Regions from separate parts of the Homo sapiens genome. Here all the other regions are linked to region 3. Evidence: promoter capture Hi-C in 16 types of primary human blood cells and fetal thymus (Javierre and others, 2016). All regions are on one chromosome and are shown on one strand. Each heading gives the region's core, a stretch centred on a gene start or on the middle of the fragment in contact. The rest is flanking DNA. Distances are from core to core; before and after follow the strand shown.

Evidence for each region. Contacts are between HindIII fragments. The CHiCAGO score rates a contact against its expected background, and 5 or more counts as called.
Region 1: a contact is called between a fragment that was not itself captured here and the fragment with the promoter of SLC38A11 in region 3, in 3 of 17 cell types (total B cells, naive B cells and M1 macrophages). The highest score is 7.9, in total B cells.
Region 2: a fragment that was not itself captured here is called in contact with the fragment with the promoter of SLC38A11 in region 3 in 2 of 17 cell types (naive B cells and M0 macrophages); the score reaches 5.5 in naive B cells.
Region 4: a fragment that was not itself captured here is called in contact with the fragment with the promoter of SLC38A11 in region 3 in 1 of 17 cell types (total B cells); the score reaches 5.0 in total B cells.

The regions. Positions count from the first base shown.
Region 1 is chr2:164,745,668-164,748,593 of GRCh38, reverse strand. All of the region lies in intron 2 of COBLL1 (cordon-bleu WH2 repeat protein like 1), which reads left to right. It also overlaps the pseudogene LOC124906197. Among named protein-coding and RNA genes, the nearest start is that of SNORA70F, 59 kb to the right of the region's middle. The HindIII fragment of the contact is 3,429 bases long and covers 1-2,926 here.
Region 2 is chr2:164,723,073-164,726,358 of GRCh38, reverse strand. All of the region lies in intron 5 of COBLL1 (cordon-bleu WH2 repeat protein like 1), which reads left to right. Among named protein-coding and RNA genes, the nearest start is that of SNORA70F, 37 kb to the right of the region's middle. The HindIII fragment of the contact is 4,319 bases long and covers 1-3,286 here.
Region 3 is chr2:164,954,274-164,957,367 of GRCh38, reverse strand. It overlaps SLC38A11 (solute carrier family 38 member 11), which reads left to right and starts at 1,843. Exons shown (of 12, transcript NM_001351537.2): 1 at 1,843-2,159; 2 at 2,623-2,737. The coding sequence starts at 2,121. The HindIII fragment of the contact is 8,780 bases long and covers 1-3,094 here.
Region 4 is chr2:164,766,426-164,769,537 of GRCh38, reverse strand. All of the region lies in intron 2 of COBLL1 (cordon-bleu WH2 repeat protein like 1), which reads left to right. Among named protein-coding and RNA genes, the nearest start is that of COBLL1, 74 kb to the left of the region's middle. The HindIII fragment of the contact is 800 bases long and covers 1,220-2,019 here.

The sequences.
Region 1 (2,926 bases), core at 249-2,748, 210 kb after region 3:
GTTTAAAAGGGGTGAGGAGGCTTCAATGGCAGTTACTGTGATTTTTAAATATTTAAATATTTTAAAAACTTAGTATTCTTAAGTATAGTTGTTATTGAATGTTAATGTTACATTTTTCTCTTTAGTTTATATTATCAGAATTTCCTATATTTAGATGATAACACACATTTGATTATTTTCACTGTACTTTTAACTTTGGGTGACAATTTTGTTATTACTTCGGAGCCTCTGACCAAAAAATTAATGTTAGGAGAATGTGAGTAGGTAAAAGATATTTTCAAAATTTTGCTGGTGACTAAAAGGTCAAATAAGTTAAAGTCTTAAAGCTACTTAGGATTCAGGCCAAATCCAGGCTTCCATCTGGTATTCTTTTCACTAGACTGGACTATGTAGTAAGCAAACTGGATAAACACATTCCTAAATTTAATGTGTATGGATCACAATTGGGAACTAACATATAATTGACCCTACAGGCTCTGCTTATCAAAATTCTACTTTTCTTTCAAGACCTGAGTCTCTTGTCTTTTCTCTTTGAAGCATGCCTTGATCCTGCTCCCCACCACACACAGCTGGTCTCAGCTGGCTTTCACTGACCTAAATTTTCAAAGTTGCCATCTGTTTGATGACCCTTCTTTTTCGTTTTGTATTATGTAATTATGCATTGCATCTTCTCGGTTGTATTGCACATTCACTGTGGAAGGATCTTGGTCTTATTCACATTGCTTTCCATTTTTCAGGAACAAAAGTTACAAATACATTATTAAATTGAAATAACAACTGAGAACATTAGGATGTTTTTCCTAGAAGTCTAATGTAAATGCCCCAGTGTGGTGGCTCATGCCTGTGATCCCAGCACTTTGGGAGGCTGAGGTGGGAGGATTGCTTAAGTCAGGAGTTCAAGACCAGCCTGGCCAACATGGCAAAACCTGGTGTCTAGTAAAAATACAAAAATGAGCTGGGCATGTGCCTGTAGTCCCAGCTACCCAGGAGGCTAAGGCACAAGAATCGCTTGAACCTGGGAGATAGAGGATGCAGTGAGCTGAGATTGTTCCACTGCACTCCAGCCTAGGTGACAGAGCCAGACCCTGTCTTAAAAAAAAAGTTCTGTGTGAATGGTTTTTCAAGTAGCGCTTTGTCCTACTTTCCCCATCTTAAAAGAAATTGGCTTATGTATAGTGATTAGAGATGGATTTTCATCATAGATACAAACTACCTGAGGAAGTAAAACTGTCACACACAGACATCAAAACTGTGAGTGAGAGGAGTTCACTGCAGTGTGCAGTAGACAGGGAATGCTTCCCCAGAATTACAAAGTTGTCAGTTATCCCTTGCTAATAAATCCAGTGTGTATTTTTCATTCATCTTGTAAAAAATAAAACATAATCAGTTAATTTTAAAAAAAAAATCCCAGACAAGTAATCCTGAAATGAAAGCTCATTTTATTTTTTGGTGGTAAGGACTCTTTTCCTTCCCAGTTTTAGGCTTAGGTAGTGCATCTTCTGTGGAAAGTAGTCATTGAATTCACTCTTTCAGCAAGTATCAGTGCCTACTACATGGCAGGCATGGTCCCAGAGATTCTGTGTATTTGCAAATGTGTGGACAAGGTGGTAGAGACAAGTCCCTACTCTCATGGAATTAATTACCCTTTAACAGAAGGAGACATAAGTATGTTGCTCATTAACCCTGTGGCCAAAAGTAAAGCAGAGAGATGGGGGTGTTAAGGTCAGGAGCAGACTCTGTAGAGGGCCTGGTATTCTGGATGTGTTCAAGGAAAAGGCAAGAGTCCTGAGATTGGAATGCAGTGATCCTAGGGAGAAAGTGTTAGATAGGGGACTGGAGAGGCCGGAGGTAAGGGAGGAAGGAAGGACCTATTACAGATGGTCTCCTGCTTGCGATGGTTTGATGTATGATTTTTCAACTTTATTGTGGGTTTGTCAGAATGTAACCTCGTCATAAATTGAGGGACATCTGGATTTATGATGGTTTGAATTATGATTTTCTGATTCTGTGATGGGTTTATTGGGGGTATTTGGTACATTTTGACTGATATTTTCAATTTAGGGTGGATTTATCAGGTTGTAATCCCATCGTAAGTAGAGGAACATTTGTATAGCACTCCAGATCTTTTCTGGTTGAGGCAAGAAACCATTGGAGAATGTGAGAAGTGAGGCAGTGAGCTGACTTGTATTTTATTTTATTATTTTATTGACTTATTTTTCCACACATTCAGAGAAACTTCTCTAGTAATGAACTATAGAAATGACCCCTGAAAGTTTAGTCTTCTAACTTGTATTTTAAAAAGATCACTCTGGTTGTTTCGTTGAGACTAGATTATGAAGTGACAAGGTTGGGAGCAGGGACACCAGTTGGCAGCTTGAGCAGAGGTATTTGGTGATCCAGGTGGTTGGTGGATTCTGGGTCTATTTATGATATAGAGCTGGCGGAATTTGTAGATGGATTAGATGTATGTTTATGAGAACAAGGATTTTTGGTCTGGACAAATGAAAGAAATGTGATTGACTGAGATGGGAATACTTGGAGAGTCTTTTTAAAATTCATTTTTGTTGCTATTACCAAAGTTACTTTTTCTTTCATTGTACTTTCTGATGAGTTTTTGCTGATATTTAGGTAGGCTATTGACACTTTCATATATGAACTTTGTGCCAACCTACCTTACTGAGTTCTCTTACTTATAAAATGTTTCAGTCGATTCGCTGATTTCTCATCTCTTTTGACTTCTCTGTGCAATTTTACCAAACCATTTAATTCCAAAAATTACCATTTTCTTTTATGGTTCTATTAACTTTCCTCTGCCAAAAATATCAGTTATTTCTTGCCTTTTTCTGTGTGTTTCTATTCATTCTCCAAAACCCAGCTCATGTTTCCCATCTGTAAGACATTTCTGGATTCCTAAGAAAGTTGTGTT
Region 2 (3,286 bases), core at 227-2,726, 230 kb after region 3:
GCCTACTAAAAAAACAAGCCTTAACAAACTGCATATATTATGTGTTAGTGAAATCTCACCTTCTACTTCTATAATAATAGGAGATTAGAAATAGTGGTCTCTGTGGTTCTTTCTAGCAACAACATTTTATTACTTGTACTTGACTTTTACTCCTAATTTTGCCACTCTCTATCTGCATAATCCTAAGCAAATTCCATAAACTTTCTGGCCTCATTTTGAGGTTGTCGAATGCACTGATTTCTAATATCCCTTCCAGTAATGGAAGGATGTGGTTTATTTAGAATATGAAATGTTGTGGACAAATCTTAAGAGAGTGAAATATTAAAATTAAGAAAGTTTACAGTATCAGAATCTACAAGGTCAATCCAAATGCTGTCACTACCCTTGCCTCCTTATTTTTTCTGATACTATTTTGAAAACTTAGAACTTACCATGCAATTATATTTAGCCTGCCTTCTAGAAACAGGAAACTACAGTATTTGAGTTGCTTTTCTAAGTAAGCTAAAGCCTTTGCTTGTCTTACTGTTTAACCTGACTTGCTATGATCCCTGATGTAGAGCTTTAAGTGAAAACTTAATGGCTAACTAGTGTGGAGGATGACCATGTACCTGAAAATTTCTTCACCAAAAATAACCATATGGGCCAGGCACGGTGGCTCACACCTATCATTCCAACACTTTGGGAGGTCAAGGTGGGAAGATTGCTTGAGCCTAGGAATTTGCGACCAGCCTGGGAAACATGGCAAAATCCCATCTCCACAAAAAATACAAAAATTAGCCGGGTGTGGTGGCACATGCCTGTAGTCCCAGCTACTCAGAAGGCTGAGGTGGGAGGATCACCTAAGCCCAGGGAGGTCAGGGCTGTGGTGAGCCATGACCCTGCCAGTGCACTCCAGACTGGGTGACAGAGTGAGACCGTTTCAAAAAAATAAATAAAAAATAAAAAATATTCTGGTTATATTTATTGTATTGCACAACCATATGAATTTTTCATCTACTGTTCTGAGTAAATTTAATTGTGTATCCATATGCGATAAGCGGTGTATTCCATCTTAAATTGAAATAGTGGCAAATGTAAAAATAATACAAATATAAATAATCTTTAAATGGATACCAGTTTTAGTTCTACTGTTTAATGCCTGTTTGTCTTTGTGCAAGTTACGAAAACTCTCTGTTCACTTATAGTTCCTGAGAGCGTAATGGAGTAATACCACTGCTTTCATTTTATATATATATATATATATATATATATATATATCCTGCAGGGTAAATGCTAGCATCTTCCAATGAGAAAAAGGGCTCAGAGTGATAACTTTTGATACTTCCCTCACAAGGTCATTCTAAGAAACATTTAGGCATGCAAAAAAACTTTAACCATAAAGTGCTATCTACGTGTTCGTTATTATTAGTTGCTAGCATTGTCAAACTCATTGTGCAGAATGTATGCTGCTTATTTAATATTTGAATCATCAGATTTAAAAGTTTTACTTTGTAAAATAGTTTTCCTTTCATATGTTATTGAGGCATATTGTATTATTGTATTTATTTGGTGTTAACTAGCTTTCCTTTCCTGAAGTAGTCCCTATTTTGCCATAATTTATTTTGGTTTTCTTAGACAGGTATTTTAAATAAAAGCATTTAAGACTATATATTTATCTATTAGTTTAGCTTTAGTTATGTCTCACAAATTTTAATACACAATATTTTATGTCAAATGTTATTGAAATTATATTGTGATTTACCATAAAATCCATATGTTGCTTAGTAGAAGAAATATTTTTTTAGTTTTACAGATCACCACTCATTGTTTTTCCAACCTTTTAGAAAAATTTGCTACTCATTTATTGAAGAAACTAGGTCATTTGTTTTATAGCTTCCCGTGTTCAGATTTTTACTGTTTGCCTCCTGTGGTGTCACTTAATGTTTAACTTATTGCCAATGTCATTGAAATTTTATTTCAATGTAAATTTCCCCTCTCTTTCCTGTAAATTGATGGTTAAATCTAGAGGCTTGATCAGATTTTGGCGAGAGATTTTTTGGCAAGAATACTTCACAAGTGTTGCTGTGTACTTCCATCAGCAAACATGTAACAACGAGTTATTTTTTTCTGATGTTAGCCATCAATGATCTTTGTCTACATCTTAGTTAATTAAGATTTGAAAAATGGTGAAAGTCTATTGCAGTCAATATTACTGAAAAAGTAAGGTTCTCCGTGTCAGCTATATGACTGCTACATAAGTCGAATTCAATCAGAAAAAGGTAGAATAGGCTGGATGAGGTGGCTCATGCCTGTAATCCTAGCACTTTGGGAGGCCGAGGCGGGTGGATCACCTGAGGCCAGGAGTTCGAGACCAGCCTGGCCAATATGGCGAAACCCTGTCTCTACTAAAAATACAAACATTAGCCAGGCATGGGGATGCATGCCTGTAGTCCCAGCTACTTGGGAGGCTGAGGCAGGAGAATCGCTTGAACCGAGGACTCAGAGGTTGCAGTGAGCCAAGATCACGCCACTGCACTCCAGCCTGGGCGACAGAGTGAGATTCAAAAAAAGACTGTCTCAATAAATAAATAAATAAATAAGAAAAGAAAAAGGTATAATAAAAGTTGGATGATTTCCTTTCATCAGTTTTTAAAATAATGGACTGGTTCTCTAGCATAACACAAAGGTGAAAAAAGAGTTTTTTTTTTTTAGTATCATTATGAACATATGAAATTAAACACATGTGACATGTTTCAGTTTATTGAGTTACTTTTATGATGTCCAAATTATCCTTATTTTTACCAGTAGAAACTGTCTCAAGTTGGTTCCTGAGTCCTTTTAACACAACCTGGTAGACTTTGATAGCATTCTTTCTAGTATGGCTAGATGTCCCAAGTTTATCTTGTAGATTCTTTGATACCAACAGAGAATCAACCATTCTCAAGTAATCATGGTTTCTTTTAATGGGAAATGGAATTTATAGCCAATTTGGGCCAGGGAGGCTCAGCACTACTGGCTGTGTCATTGTTTGTAGGCCCTTCAGTTGATATTAGGAGATGCTTTTTGGAAAATTTTATATAAATATTATGTATACAACCTTGAGGTTTGACATTTGCCCTTCTAACTAAAGTAGGGCTTCCTAATTTTCAGCACTATTAACATTTGAGACAAGATAATTCTGTCATTAGGGACTGTCTTTTGCAATGTGCTATGTTTGGAATCCTCACTGGCCTCTACCCAGTAAATGCAGACAGCACAGTCTCCTAACCTCATTGCCAATGGTGGCAATCAAATTGTCCCCAGACTT
Region 3 (3,094 bases), core at 594-3,093:
CCTGAGGTCAGGAGTTCAAGACCAGCCTGGCCAACATGGTGAAACCCCATCTCTACTAAAAATACAAAAACTTAGCCGGGCGTGGTGGCAGGCACCTGTATTCCCAGCTACTCCTGAGGCTGAGGCAAGAGAATCATTTGAACCCAGGAGGCAGAAGTTACAGTAAGCCCAGGTCACACCATTGCACTCCAGCCTGGGCAACAAAAGCGAAACTCCATCTCAATAATAATAATAATGATAATGAAGTTGAAAGTGTGCATGACCTACTACCTAACACTTCTACATCTAGAGAAATTGTCACTTTTATGCTCTGGAAGAGTGTAAAACGAGAAACAACCTTAATATCTTTCAGTAGGGGAAGGCTGACTTAACTGTTAGATAAAATGAAAAAAAAATCTGCATATATCTACATCATACATGCTGAAAACAAAAATGCCAGTGGAAAAATAACATGTACAATATGGCACCATCTTTGTAAATGTTGAAAATACAAAAGCCAATGTTATATATTGTTTATGGCTATAAATGAACGGATTAAAATACAAAGTATGAATAGCAAAGATAACACTAACTTGATGAACCGATGACTCCAGGGCTGAAGGCCTGGGGAAAGGAATGGAGAAGGTCAAGGGGGTTCCTATTGTGACATTGTGTTTACTTTTACAATTTGAAGAAAATATGACAGCATGTTAACATTTGATGGCAGAGTGTATATAAAGTTTATAAGTCTTTTGTTTTCCCACGGTTTTTAATTTTTTTTCTTAATTATAAGTAAACATGTATGAAACAGAACCTCTTTAATTAGGTACAGTTGGCCTCTATATCCCCACTTCTGCATCCATGCATTAAACCAATCCCAGATCAAAAATGTAGTTAGGGCTAGGATGGATGTGTCTATACTGAACACATATGGACTTTTTTCTTATTTCCTAAACAATACAGTATAACAACAAGTAAATAGCATTTACATTGTATTAGGTATTATAAATAATCTAGAGATGATTTAAAGTATGCTGGAGGATGTGCCTAGGTTACATGTAAATACCATGCTGTTTACTATCAAGGACCTGAGCATTCCTGGATTTCAGTATCTGCAGGGGTTCCAGAACCAATCCCCTATGGATATCAAGGGAAGGCAGAATTTGTTAAGTATGATGGCATATCACCGCTCTTATTGCCCCTGAAACTGTTGTCTCATGCATTCTGTCTCTGATATTGAATACTCTCTGGGCTTGTTGCTTCATCTGTAATGTAAGAGGACTGAATAGGTGGTCATTGAAGATTCTTTCTAGCTCAGGCACTGTAGGTGCCACCCCTTTCCCAAACCCTTGTACTCCTCTTTCCCTTTTCAAGGTTCATTACCTGAATGCAGTAACAATCCACCTTCATTTTCTCTATCGCTCCTTTTTCTAAAAGTTACCAGGAAGCGTTTGACCAAAGCATGCTCAGTAGTCAAGTTTGCTAAAACCCTAGGAAAGTTTTTTGTTTTGCTATTCATTTTCTTATGAGTCTTTCCATTTCCATTTACAATAAAAGTCCCAAATTTTCACTCGTCGTCTCTGCCATTGAAGAGGGGTAGCGAGGAGGAGGTGCTAATAGGGAAGATGGCCCATGGGCCCAAGGGTGCTTCTGCGTTCTTACCTGGGCTTCAGACCCCAGCAAAGGAGAAGCTAACTTAGGAACGGACTGCAACGAGGCGGTCATAACTCTGTGAGATCGGGGCAGGGCAGCGTGGGTGGAACAAGTTGTCCTCTGCAGCTCCAGGGAAGAGTAGCTCTCCCTGTTCTCTCAGGGAGGCGGGGGTGTGAAGGGGGGAGGCGGGGAGACAGGGCTGCCCGGATCAGAAACATCCTGCAGCATCTCCGTCTCCGGAGGAAAAATACATTTGTCTGGGCGAACTCCGGTGGAAAAGCGCCCCAGGCTGCCACAGCCTAGAGATCTTGGGGCTGCAGCCCTCGCGGCCTGCCGAGGGAGCAGGGGGCGCCCGTGGAACTGGCTCCCTGCAGCTCTGCGGCTACACGCGGACCTCGGCTGTGTGCGAGGTGGCGGAGGAGGCTGGCCGGGTGCGAATCCGTACCCAGCCCCAGCATCTTCCACCTGCTGAGGACCACCGCTCAGCCATGGGCTACCAGAGGCAGGAGCCTGTCATCCCGCCGCAGGTAAAACTAGCGACTAGGCAGGTTCTGAAGCCAGTTGTCCGGAAATTTCATTCACCTTGCAACAGGTCAGGTCACCTACCTTCACCTGGGCTCTTGGTTTAGCACCGCGAAAAGTTCTCTGGGACAAAAAGTTTTGCCTTAATCTGACTTTTTTTTTTTTTTTTCTTAGCAGGCACTTTAATTTCACAAAATCACATCACTGAATTCCTAACAGATCCTGTACTTAGCAGCTGGGGCAGCTGTAATCTGGAAATTTTAGGATGGAGTTTGCTTACCAAGCTCTGTTGAATTACTAGCTGTTATTGTTATTCTTTATTACTGTTATCCCGGCATTTATTTTATTTTCATTAGTGACATTACTTATTATTACTAGAAAATCGTGTTAGTATCCTGCATTACATATTTGTTACTTTTCTAATTTTCTGAACTAGTATTTGCTTATAATTGCTATTTTATCTATTAGAGAGATTTAGATGACAGAGAAACCCTTGTTTCTGAACATGAGTATAAAGAGAAAACCTGTCAGTCTGCTGCTCTTTTTAATGTTGTCAACTCGATTATAGGATCTGGTATAATAGGTAAGTGTATTTGCTTTGGTTTAAATTTTAAGTGAAAGGGCAAAATTTAAGACTCGCTACGCTGCTAGTGTTCATTAATTATTTTTAAAGAAAAAAAGACTTAAATAAGAAAATTGGTAATTTTCTTCCATAAAAGGCTTCCTTTTTTTCTAGTGTAACAGTATGTATGCATGTCTTTTATGCTGAAGATGGGGCTGTAATTCACACTGTTTCCACAGTTGAGAGCATCTTCCACATGTGGTAGATTAAGGTGAAACTGCATATGGGTGGTGGTGAATCATTTTTCTGTAGGCTGCGTGGTTGATTGCTAGTGTTACCGAATGTACTTTTTCCACTTACTGAAGGGTCCATCATTAT
Region 4 (3,112 bases), core at 370-2,869, 190 kb after region 3:
TTTGGCCTTTTACACAAACAGGAATATAAAATATATTCTTATTTACTGATGACTGGGGATAATATATATAAAATGATGTATTTGGTAGAGTTGCCAAACCACCAGTCTGAAGGTAAAAGGCAAATGTCTCTACAATAGATGGGAAGAAGAAAATGATTTTCATGGAATATAGATGTTTAGCAACCCTACAGCTTGGTTATTTTTATACATTGCTAGAAGACAGCCTGATTGTTGAATGGCTGAGGATAATTTATTCTTTGTGCAGGTTCTTGTTTTCTATGAATCAGGGTCAAATGCTGAAAGGAACTGTTATTTCACACTAAATACATTAAAAATTCTAACCCCGCATGCTTTTAAGAAACGAGATTTTTTTTTCAAAATTAGGAAAATGTTTGAACACATGGTAGAGTATGTGTGTATCTGAAAGAGAAATCATTCAACCATGTTTTATTGAGCATCTTCTTTGTTCCAATAAATATTCTAGATGCTTCAAGACACAGCATTAAACCAGAGAGTTAAGGTGCCTGGACTCAGTCAGCTTCCATTCGCTAATATGAACTTGCTAATCTGAATTAATCACTAAGAATTGTGAACATTTACAATAAGCCATTTGCATATTGTTGCTTGTATGGAAACATTTAGTGTGTAAACAGATTTCTTTGCTTAGTGTGCCATCGTGTGCTTGCAATACAAATATACCTAAAAATAGTTAAGGAAATAGGAAGGCCAGTGCTTTCACGGAGATTTTTAGAAATGTCGTTTGTCAATACATATTACTTATCTTTAAATTTAATTGTGATTTTTCAATTCTGATGACACTAATAAGATTTACAGTAGATTTTTAAAATTTCTTTTTATCAAGTGATTTACTAAGGGATATATGATAGGAGGCATTTAACTAATAGACATAAGATGGTTCTGGATCATTTCTTCCCCAGATAAGAGGGATTATTTCTATAGATGAATAAAAATGGTTTCTGGAAAGCTATGCTTCTGTATTTATATCTTAATTCAAAGGTGTCCAATCTTTTGGCTTTCGTGGGCCACATTGGAAGAAAAAGAATTGTCTTGGGCCACACATAAAATATACTAACAGTAGCTGATATGCTAAAAAAAAAAAATCTCATAATGTTTTAAGAAAGTTTACGAATTTGTGTTGGGCCACATTCAAAACCATCCTGGGCTGCATGTGGCCTGCAGGCCACAGGTTGGACAAGCTTGGCTTAGATTATTATTTTATTGAGAGAATCATTTGTATTATTTCTGGTGCATGTGATCTATCCACAGTATTCTCATTTTCTACTGCCTTTCTTACAAATTGTGTAATAAATTAAGGAGTAGCAGGTGGTTGCTTTTGCTTGGCCTGCACTTGTTTGGACAAACTAAAAAAAAATCAAGTTTCAGGTCATGATTTCTTAAAGGTTTGTCAGTGTATGGATCACAGTTCTCCAGCAATCCTGCATCTAGTGACCTGTAGAAGTTCTTAAACTTCAGTCAACAGACTTGTTCAGATAAGATTTCCAGTCCCTCAGTAATACATGCTGAAAGTCTGTTCTTTGCACCGTTTGGGGCTAGGACCAGTAGGGTAATTTCTAGTTCACCTTCTCATGCCAGTTATATTTCTTCAAAATTTTGTTTTACTATTACTTAACCTGTTAAGGCCTGTTTTTACAATTGCTTATTTTAATAATGTAATTTAAAAAATATTATATACATACAATGTAAAAACAGGAAGAGCTGTTTTCATAAAAGCAAAATTAAGTACTTAAGAAATAATCTTTGGTGAGCTACCTACCCTAACCAAAAAATTATGCTATTAAATTATAATTGAATGGGACACTAAAATAATGAAATAAAAATATGAAATAAATGAATTTACATGTAAATTATTTTGCAGATGTGTTGAAATGTTTGATCTACGTAGAAAAGGAGAACATCAAAGGCAAGCCTTTGTATGCTATGTGTGCAAGAAGGACAGGATGAAAATCCCATCAGTGGGTACATTTAAAAAATAAAGCTTTCACTCTACATCAAAGAGCAGTGAATGAATTTACATCTGTGCATCTTAAGTTAGAATGTTTGAGGTTATATGAACTTTTGATTTCCCACTTTACCTGACCTTTTTATAACCTGCTGACTAGAAATATTAGAGAATTTTGTTATATTTGCCTCCTTTTTTGATAATTTTTCTAAATCATTAATCCTAAACTATTTTCCATAAGATAATGGTAGTGTCTCTTCTAACTATATGTTTTAAAACTCTAGTGATTTTTCCAAAAAATGAACTTATTTAAATATGTGAGAAAAAAATTAAAAAGCATTCATGCAGTTTTGTGTTTGAATTTAAAAGTACACGTTTGAACTGCCCATTGTTGCATAAGCGACACTTGGAGTAGAATTCCATCCCTCTCTGTGTTTCCGTAGTGAAACCAGTACATAAGTTAAACACAGTTATGCTGTCTGCATTGTACCCACTACATCTTTCTTTATTAGACATGTTAGTTTATTCATTATCCTTATGATATACTGAACATTTATACCAAACCATTGATCTGTAATTGAAGGAAGAATGGCTCAATGGAAAAGTAGAGGCTTGTGGTTATTATACTGTTTTAATCATAATCAAAATATTTCTTGGATAATTAATTTTATGTCCAAGGCTGTGTTTTGTGTAATATAGGTGTGGCTTATGGTTCTTGAATATCTGTTGGTCTTTCACGAGTAAATTATAATTTTAAATGCCAGTGGCTTTAAACTATTTCCATGTGCATGGAGGAAAGCAGGAGTAGTCAGAGAGTACTAGGAACATGCTATATATCTATGCTGTGAAGTCTTAAGAATGACATACTGTATTAGTTCGTTCTCGCACTGCTATAAAGAAATACCTGAGACTGGGTAATTTATAAAGAAAAGAGGTTTAATTGGCTCATGGTTCTGTAGGCTGTAGAGGAAGCATGATTCTGGCATCTGCTCAGATTCTAGGGAAGCCTCAGGAAACTTATAATCATGGCAGAAGGCAAGGGGGAGCCAGCACTTCACATTGCTGGAGCAGGAGGAAGAGCAAAAGGGAAGAGGTGCCACACACTTTTAAATGACCAGATTTCACAAGAAC